Linked DNA regions of Homo sapiens: region 1 is linked to region 2. Evidence: promoter capture Hi-C in 16 types of primary human blood cells and fetal thymus (Javierre and others, 2016). All regions are on one chromosome and are shown on one strand. The core of a region is centred on a gene start or on the middle of the fragment in contact, and the rest is flanking DNA. Distances in the headings are between cores, read along the strand shown.

Region 1 (6,332 bases), core at 2,207-4,706, 600 kb after region 2:
AGACAGAGAAGCAGTGTGCCCTGGGGAGGTGGCAGTCACGGGGAGGTGGCAGTCATGCAGGAGAGAGACAGGGAGGCTGAAGCCCCCTGTCCTAGAAGATAGCAGGAGAGAGGCCAGTGGAGGCAGCAGTTACTGGGCAGGCAGGCGGGGGCTTCACAGACCCTCAAGGCACATGGTGGAGAAGAAGGCGATGTTGCGGGTCTCCAGAGGGCTCTCGTGCGTGCACTCGGGTGAGCGGGTCTGTGGCTCAGACTCCCCTGTCAGCGAGGAGTTGTCCACCTTGCAGCCCTGGGCCGCCAGGATGCGGATGTCGGCGGGCACTCTGTCCCCACCTTTCATCTCCACCAGGTCGCCCACCACCAGTTGGTCAGCGTTGATCTGGAATTTGTCTCCATCGCGGATGACAGTGGCTTGCTGCGGGGCAGGGGCACCAAAGTTGAGGTGGACGGGGGTGGGGGTGGGAGCTGCTGCATGTGGGGAGGTAAAGGATGAGGAGAGCTGGGACCCATGGGGAGAGATGGAGGCCACAGATGAGGGACAGGGGCCTGATGGAAGGAGGCTACAGGAGCAGTTTGGAGTCTCTGGGATCTGGAGTGGCTGGGTGCTGGGGAACCCACCTGTGGCACAAGGTTCTTAAAGCTGGCGATGATGTTGGTGCTCTTGAATTCCTGGTAGTAGCCAAAGCAGCCGGTGACGACAACCACAGCAATGAGAGCGATTGCCAGGTACAGCTGGGGACAGGGAAGGGGTGGGGTTATTCAGAGGGGCCGGAAGCTGCCTGCCTGAGGCCACCGACCTGCTCCCTGGTGCCCTGGTTTTCTTGGTTTTCCCCATGCTTTTCCCCACCTACTAGGAAGCTCCATGCACCATTCCCTGTAGCCTTTAGCCCCCTCCCATGTCCCTCATGTCCCACACTCGCCTGCTCTGTCTTCTCAGTGTCTTGTGTTTCTGTGTATATTTCATATCCTCTGGCCCTGAATCCTCAATCTTCCATGTCCCCATATCTGTGACTTGTGCCCCAAATCACTGTGTGCCTTGGTCTGACGTGTTCCCTTCTCCTGTGTCCCCAAGCCTTGCATTCCCCATGTCCACTGTCCCATGTCTCCTCCTGTCCCCATGGCCTGTATTCCCCGTGTCTCCAGTTTCACATCCTGGGTTTTCCATAATCTGCTGCCACCCTCTGTGTGTCCCCTGGGCCCCCTTGTCCCTGCATCCTCACATCCCCGTCCCTGCGTGTGCTGCAGACCTTGTACGTCATGGTCTGTGTCCTCTGTGGCCACGGCCCCCATGTTCTAGCTCCCCAGTCACTGTGTCCCGTGTCTCCCATGTCTGTGTATCTCCGAGTTCCCATCCTGTGTCCCATGGCCATGACTTTTCGAGCCTCTGTCCCATGTCACATGTCCCTGAGTCCCCATGTCCCTTGCCCTCATCTCTGCCATATGTCCAATGTCCCTTGCCCTGCACCTCCATTTCCTCTCTGTCTCTGTGCTTCTATGTCTCATGTTTTGTGTCTCTCTATGTGCTGTGTCCTGAGGCTTGGGTCCCTGCCCTGGTGTCCTATGTCTGAGTCCCAGGGTCTCCTATTCCCCGTGCCTCAGTCTGTCCTGTGTCTGCACTGCATGTCCTCTGCTTCCAAGTCCCATCTCTTTTTTTTTTTTTTTTTTTTTTTTTTAAGATGCAGTCTCGCTCTGTCGCCCAGGCTGGAGTGCAGTGGCATGGTCTTGGCTCACTGCAACATCCACCTCCTGGGTTCAAATGATTCTCCTGCCTCAGCCTCCCAAGTAACTGGGATTACAGGTGCCCGCCACCATGTCTGGCTAATTTTTGTAATTTTAGTAGAGATGGGGTTTTGCCATGTTGGCCAGGCTGGTCTCGAACTCCTGACCTCAGGTGATCTGCCCGCCTCGGCCTCCCAAAGTGCTGGGATTACAGGCATGGGATTACACGCCCGGCCTCCAAATCCCATCTCTTACGTATCACATTGCCATACTCTTTATGCCCCCACCTATGTCCCCATACCCAAGATTCACCCCAGTGTCCCTGTGTCCTGTGTCCTTGGGTCTGCCCCATCCATATCCCAATGTCCTTCACCCTCCATGACCCCTGTCTTGAGACTGCCTTTCGTGTTCGTCTATCCCCATCCTTCTCTGCCCCTCTTGTCCCAAGTCCCAGGCTCAGTGTCTTCCATCCCCAGGTCCCCATGTCCTGAGCCTGTCCCCACAACATGGCTCACATTGTCGTCGGTGGTGAGGTCCCCCTCACTAGCCTGGATGGCAAAGGCGATGAGGCAGATGGCGGCGGCAACCCACATGAGGCACTGCAGGCCCCCGGCCAGCTGCCTCGCGAACTTGACGTACTCTGGGGTGCCCCGTGGTGGCCGCAGTGCGTTGGGCCCATCCCGCAGCAGCAGCTCAGCAGCCAGGCTCGCAGAGAGGCCCTGGGACAGAGGGGCAGGGCGAGGCGGTCCTGGGGGCTTTCCTCCACATGCACACCCCGTGGAAAGCCCCCTGCTTCAGTTTCCCTTCTCCAGCTTGGTCTGTCCTGCTCCTTCTCATCTCTTTGTCTCTTGGTTCCTGCCCCCACCCCATCTCTCCCTCCCTCCTTCATCTCTCCCTTTGTCTCTCTCTCCTCGCTCCCCTTTCTATGTGTCTCTCTCCTGCTGCTCTCTCCTTATTTGTCTCTGCCTTCTCTGTCTTGCTGTCTCTTTTCAGCTACTCCTCTCTCCGTCTCTGTGTGTCACCCTTTCTCTCTAATGCTTTCTCCCTTCTCTCCCTCTCCCTCTCTCTCCCTCTCTCCATCTCCCTCCCTCTCTCCTCCCCTCCCTCCATCCTTTCCTCTCTCCCTCCCTCCCTCTTTCCTTTTCTGCCTCCCTCCCTCTCTCTATTTCTCCATATCTTCCTCTCTTCATCTCTCCCTCTCTCTCCCTCTCTCCATCTCCCTCCTTCCATCTCCCTCTCCCTCCCTCTCTCCTCCTCCCCTTTCTGTACGCTCCCAGTCTCCAGCTCACCTTGGTGGCACTGGTCTGGTATTTCTGTTCCAGCTCCGCCACTGACAGCTGGTGGTCGTTCTGTGTGGTGGGGTGGGGCAGGGTGCTTGCTCTGGGCTCTCCTGGCCCCCTCCCCGCCCACTGCCTGGTTCCCAGCCTACCCTCCAGCTCCCGCCCCTCCCCAGTCAGAGCTCACAATCTCCATCTCCTTCTTCATGTTCTCCAGCTTCTCCTTCCTCTTGCCACCCCCGCCACCCGCCTTCTTCTTCTTGCTCATCTTGGCAGCCATGTCCCCGCCAGGGCCAGGACCCAGCTCCACCGAGTAGAGCTCATAGTTCTCCTGGGAATGGACAGGATGGAGGGAGGGAGAACTCAGATTCCACTGCAACCCCTGTCCCCACTGCACCCCGGACCCCTGGGCCCCACTCACGGCCTTCCCCATGGTGCCCGGTGCCTGTGCTCCCACCCAACAGAGCCTGGGCCCGGACCAGTCCTGATATACCCAGGGAGGGCGGTGGGGTGGAGCAGAACCGCCCGACCACAGCTGATTACAGGCTCCTTGGGGTGACCTCTAGGCCTGGGCACCTCAGGCATTCCCTCCTGGGCTGGCCCCCCCCTCCCCTGCCCAGATCCCCCCATGTCAACCTGCCCTGAGATCAGGGAGCCCCTGGGAACCGCTGCAGCAACAAGAAGAGCAAACATAAGGTGCTCATTATGCGCTGGGCATTGTGCTGACGGCTTCCATGTGCTAACTTATTTAACCTTCCAATAACCCTTTGAGGGGACAAGACCCTTTACAGATGGGGAAACTGAGGCATGGAGGGGTTGAGTCATTCTCCTATGGCTCCATCACAGGCTAGGACATAATGGAGTGAGAACCAGATCAGCTGGCTGCAGAGTGTCCTCTTTCAGTCTAAATAGCACGTGCCTGATCAACTGGAAGAGGAGGGTGCTCCCACACTCTTTTTTTTTTTCTTTTTTTTTTTGAGATGGAGTGTCACTCTGACACCCAGGTTGGAGTGCAGTGGTGCAATCTCAGCTCGCTGCAACCTCCGCCTCCCGGGTTCAAGTGATTCTCCTGCCTCAGCCTCTTGAGTAGCTGGGACTACAGGCACATGCCACCACACCCAGCTAATTTTTGTACTTTTAGTAGAGACGGGGTTTCACCAGGTTGGCCAGGCTGGTCTCGAACTCCTGACCTCAGGTGATCCACCCGCCTTGGCCTCCCAAAGTGCTGGGATTACAGGCGTGAGCCACCATGCCCTGCCATGCTTACAACACTCTCTATGGTGGCTGAATGTTTACTGAACTCTGACTATTCACTATGGGCTGGGTGTGCTCTGTGTGTCACTCAAATGGTTTCCTTAGCATCTAACAGCAGCCCTGTAAAGCAATATTCTCTTCTTAGCCCCCATCAGGGACTTTGCAGAAGATTTCAACGTCTAAGAATTAGGGACAGGGTTCCAGCCCGGGCTTGACCCCAGGGCTTGACCCCAGAGCCTAGCTCTTCTATGGCACCACCAATGGAAAAACCCAAACTTCACTGCAGCAGCACCACACACATGCCAGGCTCTGCACGTGTGACCTCACGGGTCTTTGCAAAAAACCCTGTGCAGGCAGAACTATCATTCCTGTTGTGCAGAGGGGGAAACTGAGGCTCACAGGGACTCACATATCCAGCTACAGACTTTACAGCTCTCAACCATTCCCCGTCCCTACCCTAGATGGGGAAACCAAGGTGCAACATGGGGAAAGGATGTGTCCAAGGGTCTTGGCTTGATCTTGGTGTTGGGTGACAGATGCCAGGAGGCCTGGGGACTCCCTCCTCATCCCTCAGGTAGGGACCTCCATGGGCAGCAGCAGCGAGGGGCTGGGCCAGTGGAATGGTGGGGACCTTGGTATGTTATGGGGTGAGCGTGTCTCCAGGAGCAGGTGAGCGTGCGCCTGATAAGATAACTGCCCTGGCAATGTCCTTCTCTACTGGGGCAGGTCACCTGGGAAACTCAAAGCTGTTGGGCAGCCAGAGCTCCTCCCCGCACCCACACGGCTGGTCATCCCCAGCCTGCTAGAAGAAACCTCCAAAGAAGAGGTGGCGTGGGGCCACATGCTGTCCTTGTAGTGAATCTACTCGCTCACTGGGCTCCCATCAGCTCTGAGCCATGTATGTCAAACAGCTTGTGTCACCCCCTGCTTACAACCCTCCAAAGCCTTCCCTTCCCACTCAGAATAAACTCTGCACTCCTTCCTGCAACATCTGGCCCTGGTCACCTGTCCTGCCTCTGTTGCTGCTAGGTTTCCAGGGGCACTGACCTCTCTGCTGCACTTTGCACAGACCAAGGTCGTTCCTGCTTCAGGACCTTGGTACTTACAGTTCCTTCTGCCTGGGCCCCCTTCCTTAGATGTCTGCACTGGCTTTCTCACCTCTTTCAGGTCTCAGCTCAAATGTCACCTCTTCAGAGAGTCCATTCTGTAATACTGCACACTGTGTTCTGTTCCTTTACCCCACTGTATTTACACCTCCTACTCCAACCTGACACTGTGTTTTCTTTTTATTTGTTTGGTGTTCATTAGAAGGAGGACTGGGCCGGACACTGTGACTCACATCTGTAATCCCAGCACTCTGGAAGGCTGAGGTGGACGGATCATGAGGTCAGGAGTTCGAGACCAGCCTGGTCAACATGGTGAAACCCTGTCTCTACTAAAAATACAAAAATTAGCTGGATGTGGTGGTGTGTGCCTGTAATCCCAGCTACCAGGGAGGCCGAGGCAGGAGAATCACTTGAACCTGGGAGGTGAAAGTTGCAGTGAGCCGAGATCATGCCACTGCACTCCAGCCTGGGTGACAGAGTGAGACTCTGTCTCAAAAAAAAAAAAAAAAAAAAATAGAAAAATAGATAGATAAGAGATGTTAGACAGATAGATGGATACATAAATGATAGATGATTGATAGATTTTTTTTTTTTTTCTTTTTGAGACAGAGTCTTTCTCTGTCGCCCAGGCTGTAGTGCAGTGTCATGATCTCGGCTCACTGCAACCTCTGTCTCCTGGATTCAAGCAATTCTTGTGCCTCAGCCTCCCAAGCAGCTGGGATTACAGGCACCCGCCACCATGCCCAGCTAATTTCTGTATTTTTAGTAGAGACGGGGTTTCACCATGTTGGCCAGGATGGTCTAGAACTCCTGGTCTCAAGTGATCCACCCGCCTTGGCCTCCCAAAGTGCTGGGATTACAGGTGTGAGCCACCATGCCTGGCCAGAATTTTTTAAATTTTTGGCTGAATCATTTGGAAGCAAGTTGGAGACAGGATCCCCTTTATCCATACTTAGGCATGTGTCTTCTATGAATAA
Region 2 (5,902 bases), core at 2,548-5,047:
GAAGCTCCGTATGACACAGGGACATTGGGTGGTCACGGCAAGCAGTAACCACATCAGTGATTGGAATTCCTGGCACAGTCAGGCTTAGGAAATATTAGCAAGAGGAAAGGCACAGAATCTAAACCACAGAACTGTCAGATCTGGATAATCACCCAGGAGGGAATGGCCGAGTCAGAGGTAGTCACACAGCTAACCGCAAGACCCCTCATGCCTGGAGCTTCCCTGCAAGGCTTCAGGCAGCAGGTGTGGGGGCAGCTCAGGGAGAGGAGGGAACAATGCACATAGCTCAGCCCCAGAAGCCACAACACACATACCAGGAAAGTGGGGATGGAAGCAGTGCCAGCGGTCTGGCTGTGGGAAGGAAAGAGCTGTTTCTTGGGCAAAGGGGACAGGCAGAGAGGAGCTCGGGACACCGGGGTAGGGGTGACAGCCTTACCCAGCGAGGCTATAAGTGCAAAGTTTTCCAGCATCACATCGCAGTACAGGAGTCTCTGAGCCTCATCGAGGAGCACCCACTCCTCCTGGGAGAAGTAAATGGTCACGTCCTCAAAGGTCACGCAGCCCTGCCATGATGGGGACAGTTCGTTCCATGATCAGTCTCTGTCCTTGGGACTCCCTATCCATCCCCTGCTCACTCTCCTCCCCAGCTCCACAGCTCCAGGAGGTAGCAGGCCCTGGTTCTGTGGGCGCCTCATGTGACCACTGTGTCAGCCCGCAGCAGCAACAGGCAGGGTGCAGAGAGGCACCCTCTAAGCTCTGGGCCTGAAGTCCAGGGCCCAGCTCGCTCTTCTGCCAGCCTCTTCCCCTAGTGTCACCAATGTCATGCTTCTCAGATACAAATGTGGGCTTCTCCTTTAAACCCCAGTCCAGAGCCCTGGGGTGAACAGCTCATACTCCCTCCCACGTGCGTTTCACTCTTTGGACTGCACCACCCTCACAGCTCCAGACCTTCACCACGGCCTCCCATTGCCACTGCTACCTTCTCCCCATCCTGGCCCCTATCCTAGCCATCTCCATGGGCTCCCACGAGTCACTCTGCACATGGCATCCAGAGAGTGCCTGGCAAACATAAGCACCATCCCAGCCTGCCCCAGACCTTTGATGGCCTCCACTGCCAAGGGCAACACCCAGGTAAGGGGGAGAGGGAGCGCTCCACCCTTGCCTTGGAGCCCCCTAGCTCCCCTGGCCTGGCTTCAACCTAAGCCACCCACGGCACACATGGATGTCACATACACTTGGCCTTCTTTGTTGCACATTCTGACCCTGTCATCACTCACACTCATTTAAAAAAGAAAAAAAAAGCCAACCCCTCTGGCCATCCTACCCCCACCCACCTAAGCCCAGCAACTCTGCCAACTGACTCCTCTTGCCCCAAGCTAATTCCCCAGCCTGAGGACAAACCCCATCAAGGGTCACCACAGAAGCCTGGTGAGAACATAGGTGAGTGTGTAAGCACCAGCCCAGGCCTCACTGCAATATTACCTCCTCTACTGCTAAGCCTCAGCATCCATCTCATTCATGTCTACACTCTTTGGGATGATCTGGCCACCTGCCAGACCCTCTGATACACCCACATAGCCCCTCCATCACCACCATGACCACTACTGTTCCTCACCTGTCTTTATGATGCCAAACAAGCCACAGTCCCCAAGCAAGAACCCTGCTCTCAGTTTTCCAGCCCCACCTTCCTCTTTTTTTTAACATCATTGTCACCATGACCTGAAGTTTCACCTCCTAAATCTCACACACAGCTACACTCCCGTCCACACACCAGATGTCACATTTTGGATGTTTCTAACTGTTGAAATAAACAAAGACCAATGAAATGAGAAAAGCCAAGGCTACTTACTCAAAGCTCACTATAGCAAGAGAGACTCAATGCAAGCCGGGAGTGGGAGAGTTTTATAGCAAAAGAAAAGGAAGGCTTCAGGCGTGCCCTGGTTGGAGGCTCCTGTTCGTAGGTGGGTGAACTAGAAGTGGGCATCCTATGTGATTGGTTAGGGTGCGTATCTGCCTTTCTCTGGTTGTTCTTAAATCAGAAGCAGGAGCAAAAATGAGGAAAGCTGTCTGTTATTAATCAAACCCTGGCCATTTGGGACTGCTCATTACAGAAGTTATTGTTTTTACTTCCTGGATTGTCAGTCCAGATAGCAATCTGGCTTCCTGTGGGTCTGACAGACAGCAGGCTGGCTTCCTGCTGTATGGGTTGTTTATTGTAGATAAGGGGGTTGGTTTCCTGGGCAGGTTCTGGGGCAGAGTTCTATTTGTATACATGATCTGGCCATTGTTCGAATGAATATCCAGTCTCTCATTACCTTAACAACTCCCTCAGAACACCCGAACTGTGTGTTCAGCGGCCCACTCTTCAACTCCATTTGGGGGTCTCTGGGACATCACAGGCTCAACTTGGCCAAAACCTAACTTCTACTGCTTCCATGGAAAATTCCTCCTAAAACCAACTTCTCAGTTCATAAAGCTGGATTCATCAAACCAAAAACCATGGATTCTTCCCTCCTCTTTCTCACCCTCCACATCGGAAAATTTGGTCAGCTTGACTTAAAAGACATCAAGTTCCCAATCACTTCCTCTACCTCCAGTCCTCACTCTGGTCCGGCCAGCCGCAGCACTGGCCTGGGCTATTCCATTAGGCTACTCCTTGGCATCCCTGCTTGCGGCTCACTCCATATTCAGTTCTCCACTGTGCATCCACAGGGAGCCTGTTAAGACCTGAGTCACAGCATCTTCCTCCTCTGCCCTAAACCTTCCATGGCTCCCAACACCCTCAGAACAGAGGCCCAGCTCTGCCGTTCTGAGCTGTCTTCAGCCCACCTGCTCTCTGGTTCCAGCAGACATAATATTAATAACACTGACCTGGGTGGGGTTCCTTGAACACTCCCAACTCAGTCTCCACACCGTGCCCCACCCCACCCCCAAGCTTTTGCGCACGCTGGTTCCTGTGCCTACAAAGCCCTTTCTCCCTCCATCCCATTACATTTCAGCAACGGAAGCCACTTTATATAAACCCTGCCCTGATTCAGGATCCTAGCTGGGAGCAACTCCCTTCCAGGGTCCCCTGACTCAAAAGCAAGGAAATGGGAAAGGCGAAAAGTCCTAGAACAAAGCCATCTTTTGCGTCTCAACACCGAGAACAGAAGCGTGGGGGGCCGACAGCGAAGGGCCTAACGTCCAAGCACTCACCTGCGCGGGGTCCCGCAGCGCCGCCGCTGCCATCGGAGTCTGTGGTCAGAGCAGGGCCCCACGGTGCGGGAAACCACGGGGCGGGGGTAGGGGGTCTCGCAGGCTGAGGCTACCACCCACCTGGCCGTGCCCCAGACGAGGTGTGACCCCGGGCTGAGGGTCGCACTCCTAGCCTCAGTCTCCCCCGTGCAAAATGCGCAAGGGGCCCGGGGCGCAGGCTCCGGGGGCGCCGAGAGCGCGCAGCTCCGCTGGGTACCCCCGTTGCAAGGGGTCACGGCTGGTGCAAAGGCGCGGAGGGGGTCCCGGCCTCACTGTCCCCCTCGCGGTCCGGGAAAGCCGGCGGGGCAGCTTCACGGGCGTAGCCCCAGCCGCCCCGCCCCCAACTCGGGGTCCCCAGCTCCTGGGGACTCAGCCTCCCCGCCGGGAAATGACCTGCGAGGCTGCAGTGCAGGAAGTTCCGGCCCCCACCGTGGCGGCCGGGAGAGTTGCCCTCTCCCGTACTGTCATTGGCCTGGCGCCAGCCGCTGGTGCACAGGCAGGGCCTGGGGATCGCGAGTTTCTGCCCAGCCTCTCGTCAGGCTGAGGGTCCAGGGCGGGAAGGAGAGCGGATCTCGTCGGGTCTCCACCGCCGCCGCCTGCAGCCCTCGGGCCTTCCCCTTAAAGGGGCCGCTCCCGAGCCTGCAGCCGCCCGCGCTAAACCCCGCCCACCCTCCGAGGTCCAGGAGGAGAGCCCCAGTGCTCTTCCTGCGCGTGTGGGCATCGGCCAGCCGCTTCACCCCTAAGGGACCTAAATTCACACTGGAAAATGGGGATAGTACCCAATGGGCGGGGTCTTTGCGTTGTAATATTAAATGTCGCTCTGATTCAGGGCTTCTCAAACCAGCAACATCAGCATCACCTGGGGACTGGCTGAAAATGCAGGTTCTGGGGCAACAACTTAAATCTAAGGACTCAGAAATTCTGGGGATGGGATTCAGCCTTCTCTACTTTTTGCGGGGGGGGCGGGGGGGATGGGTCTCGTTCTGTTGTCCAGGCTGGAGTGCAGTGGCCTGATCATAGCTCACTGCAGCCTCCATCTCGGGCTCAAGCTATCCTCCTGCCTCAGCCTACCAGGTAGATGGGATACAGGCGTGCACCATCATACACAGCTAATTTTAAAATTTTTTGTAGAGACTGGATCTCCCTGTGATGCCTAGGCTGGTCTCAAACTCCTGAGCTCAAGTGATCCTCTCACCTCGGCCTCCCAAAGTGTTGGGAATTGCAGGAGTGAGCCATGGTGCCAGGCCTCCTTCTCTGTTTTAACAAGCCCTCTGGGGACTCCAATGCTGGCTCCAACTTTACAGCAGGGACTCTCATTGAAATCCAGTAAATAAAATGGGAAAAATAACACTACATTGTTGCAGGAAGTCAGGGACCCCGAACGGAGGGACCTGCTGAAGCCGTGACAGAAGAACATTAATTGTGAAGATTTCATGGACATTTATTAGTTCCCCAAATTAATACTTTTATAATTTCTTATGCCTGTCTTTACTGCAATCTCTGAACATAAATTGTGAAGATTTCATGGACATGTATCGCTTCCCCAATCAATACTCTTGTGATTTCCTATGCCTGACTTTACTTTAATCTCTTAATCCTGTCATCTTCGTAAGCTGAGGATGTATGTCATCTCAGGACCCTGTGATGATTGCGTTAACTGCACAGATTGTTTGTAGGGCATGTGTGTTTGAACAATATGAAATCTGGGCACCTTAAGAACAGGATAACAGCGATTTTCAGGGAACAAGGGAGATAACCTTAAAGTCTGGCTGCCTGTGGGACGGGCAGGACAGAGCCATATTTCTCCTATTACCAAAAACGGGTAAGAGAAATATCGCTGAATTCTTTCCCCAGTAAGGAATATTAATAATTAACAGCCCTGGGAAAATAATGCATTCCCAGGGCAGTGCCTCTAAAATGGCTGCCCTGGGAGTGTCTGCCTTATGCACATGTAGATAGGGATGAAACACACCCTAGTCTCCTGCAGCGCCCCCAGGCTTGCTAGGATTAGGAAATTCCAGCCTGGCGAACTCTAGTCAGACCAGTTCTCTGCTCTTGAACCCTGTTAAGATGTTTATAAATGACAATGCGTGCACAGCAGGACATGGAAGCTCATGAGTGATTCTAGTTTTGCCCTGACCTTGTGATCTCGCCCTGACCTTCTGCCTTGTGATCTTTTGTTGCCCTTAAAGCATGTGATCTCTGTGACCCACACCCTATTCGTACACTCCCTCCCCTTTGAAAATTGCCAATAAAAACTTGCTGGTTTTATGGCTCGGGGGCATCACGGAACCTGCTGACATGTGATGTCTCCCCCAGACACCCAGCTTTAAAATTTATCTCTTTTGTACTCTTTCCCTTTATTTCTCAGACCAGCCGACACTTAGGGAAAATAGAAAAGAACCCACATTGAATTATCGGGGGTGGGTTCCCCCGATACTACATGTCATATGGTGAAACCACCTTTGTAAAAATTATAACTGAGAAAATTATGACAGTGAGAGATCTGACCTAACCAACTCCATCTTGCTTCTAACCTCCAAGCTGTCCTTGTTCGTTCCTGAGCATAGGCCTAACTAACTTTGGGAGAAACTCAGTTTACAGTTTAACTTTGAAGCAAAGATAACAGCCCTTTCCCTCTAGGCCGGGCATGGTGGTTCACCCC

Evidence for each region. The method cuts DNA at HindIII sites, captures the fragments that hold promoters and counts their contacts. A CHiCAGO score of 5 or more calls a contact.
Region 1: a contact is called between the fragment with the promoter of ATP4A here and the fragment with the promoter of ZNF792 in region 2, in 4 of 17 cell types (neutrophils, monocytes, naive CD4 T cells and 1 more). The highest score is 10.7, in neutrophils.

The regions. Positions count from the first base shown.
Region 1 is chr19:35,560,202-35,566,533 of GRCh38, forward strand. ATP4A (ATPase H+/K+ transporting subunit alpha) reads right to left here and starts at 3,457. Exons shown (of 22, transcript NM_000704.3): 1 at 3,417-3,457; 2 at 3,183-3,326; 3 at 3,008-3,067; 4 at 2,234-2,437; 5 at 618-731; 6 at 162-414. The coding sequence starts at 3,428. RefSeq lists an enhancer at 4,612-5,113. The HindIII fragment of the contact is 9,853 bases long and covers 1-6,332 here.
Region 2 is chr19:34,960,432-34,966,333 of GRCh38, forward strand. It overlaps ZNF792 (zinc finger protein 792), which reads right to left and starts at 3,798. Exons shown (of 4, transcript NM_175872.5): 1 at 3,199-3,798; 2 at 437-563. The coding sequence starts at 3,231. It overlaps LOC124904699 (a long non-coding RNA gene), which reads left to right and starts at 2,995. Exons shown (of 2, transcript XR_007067236.1): 1 at 2,995-3,242. RefSeq lists silencers at 3,140-3,189, 3,300-3,559. The HindIII fragment of the contact is 6,406 bases long and covers 2,934-5,902 here.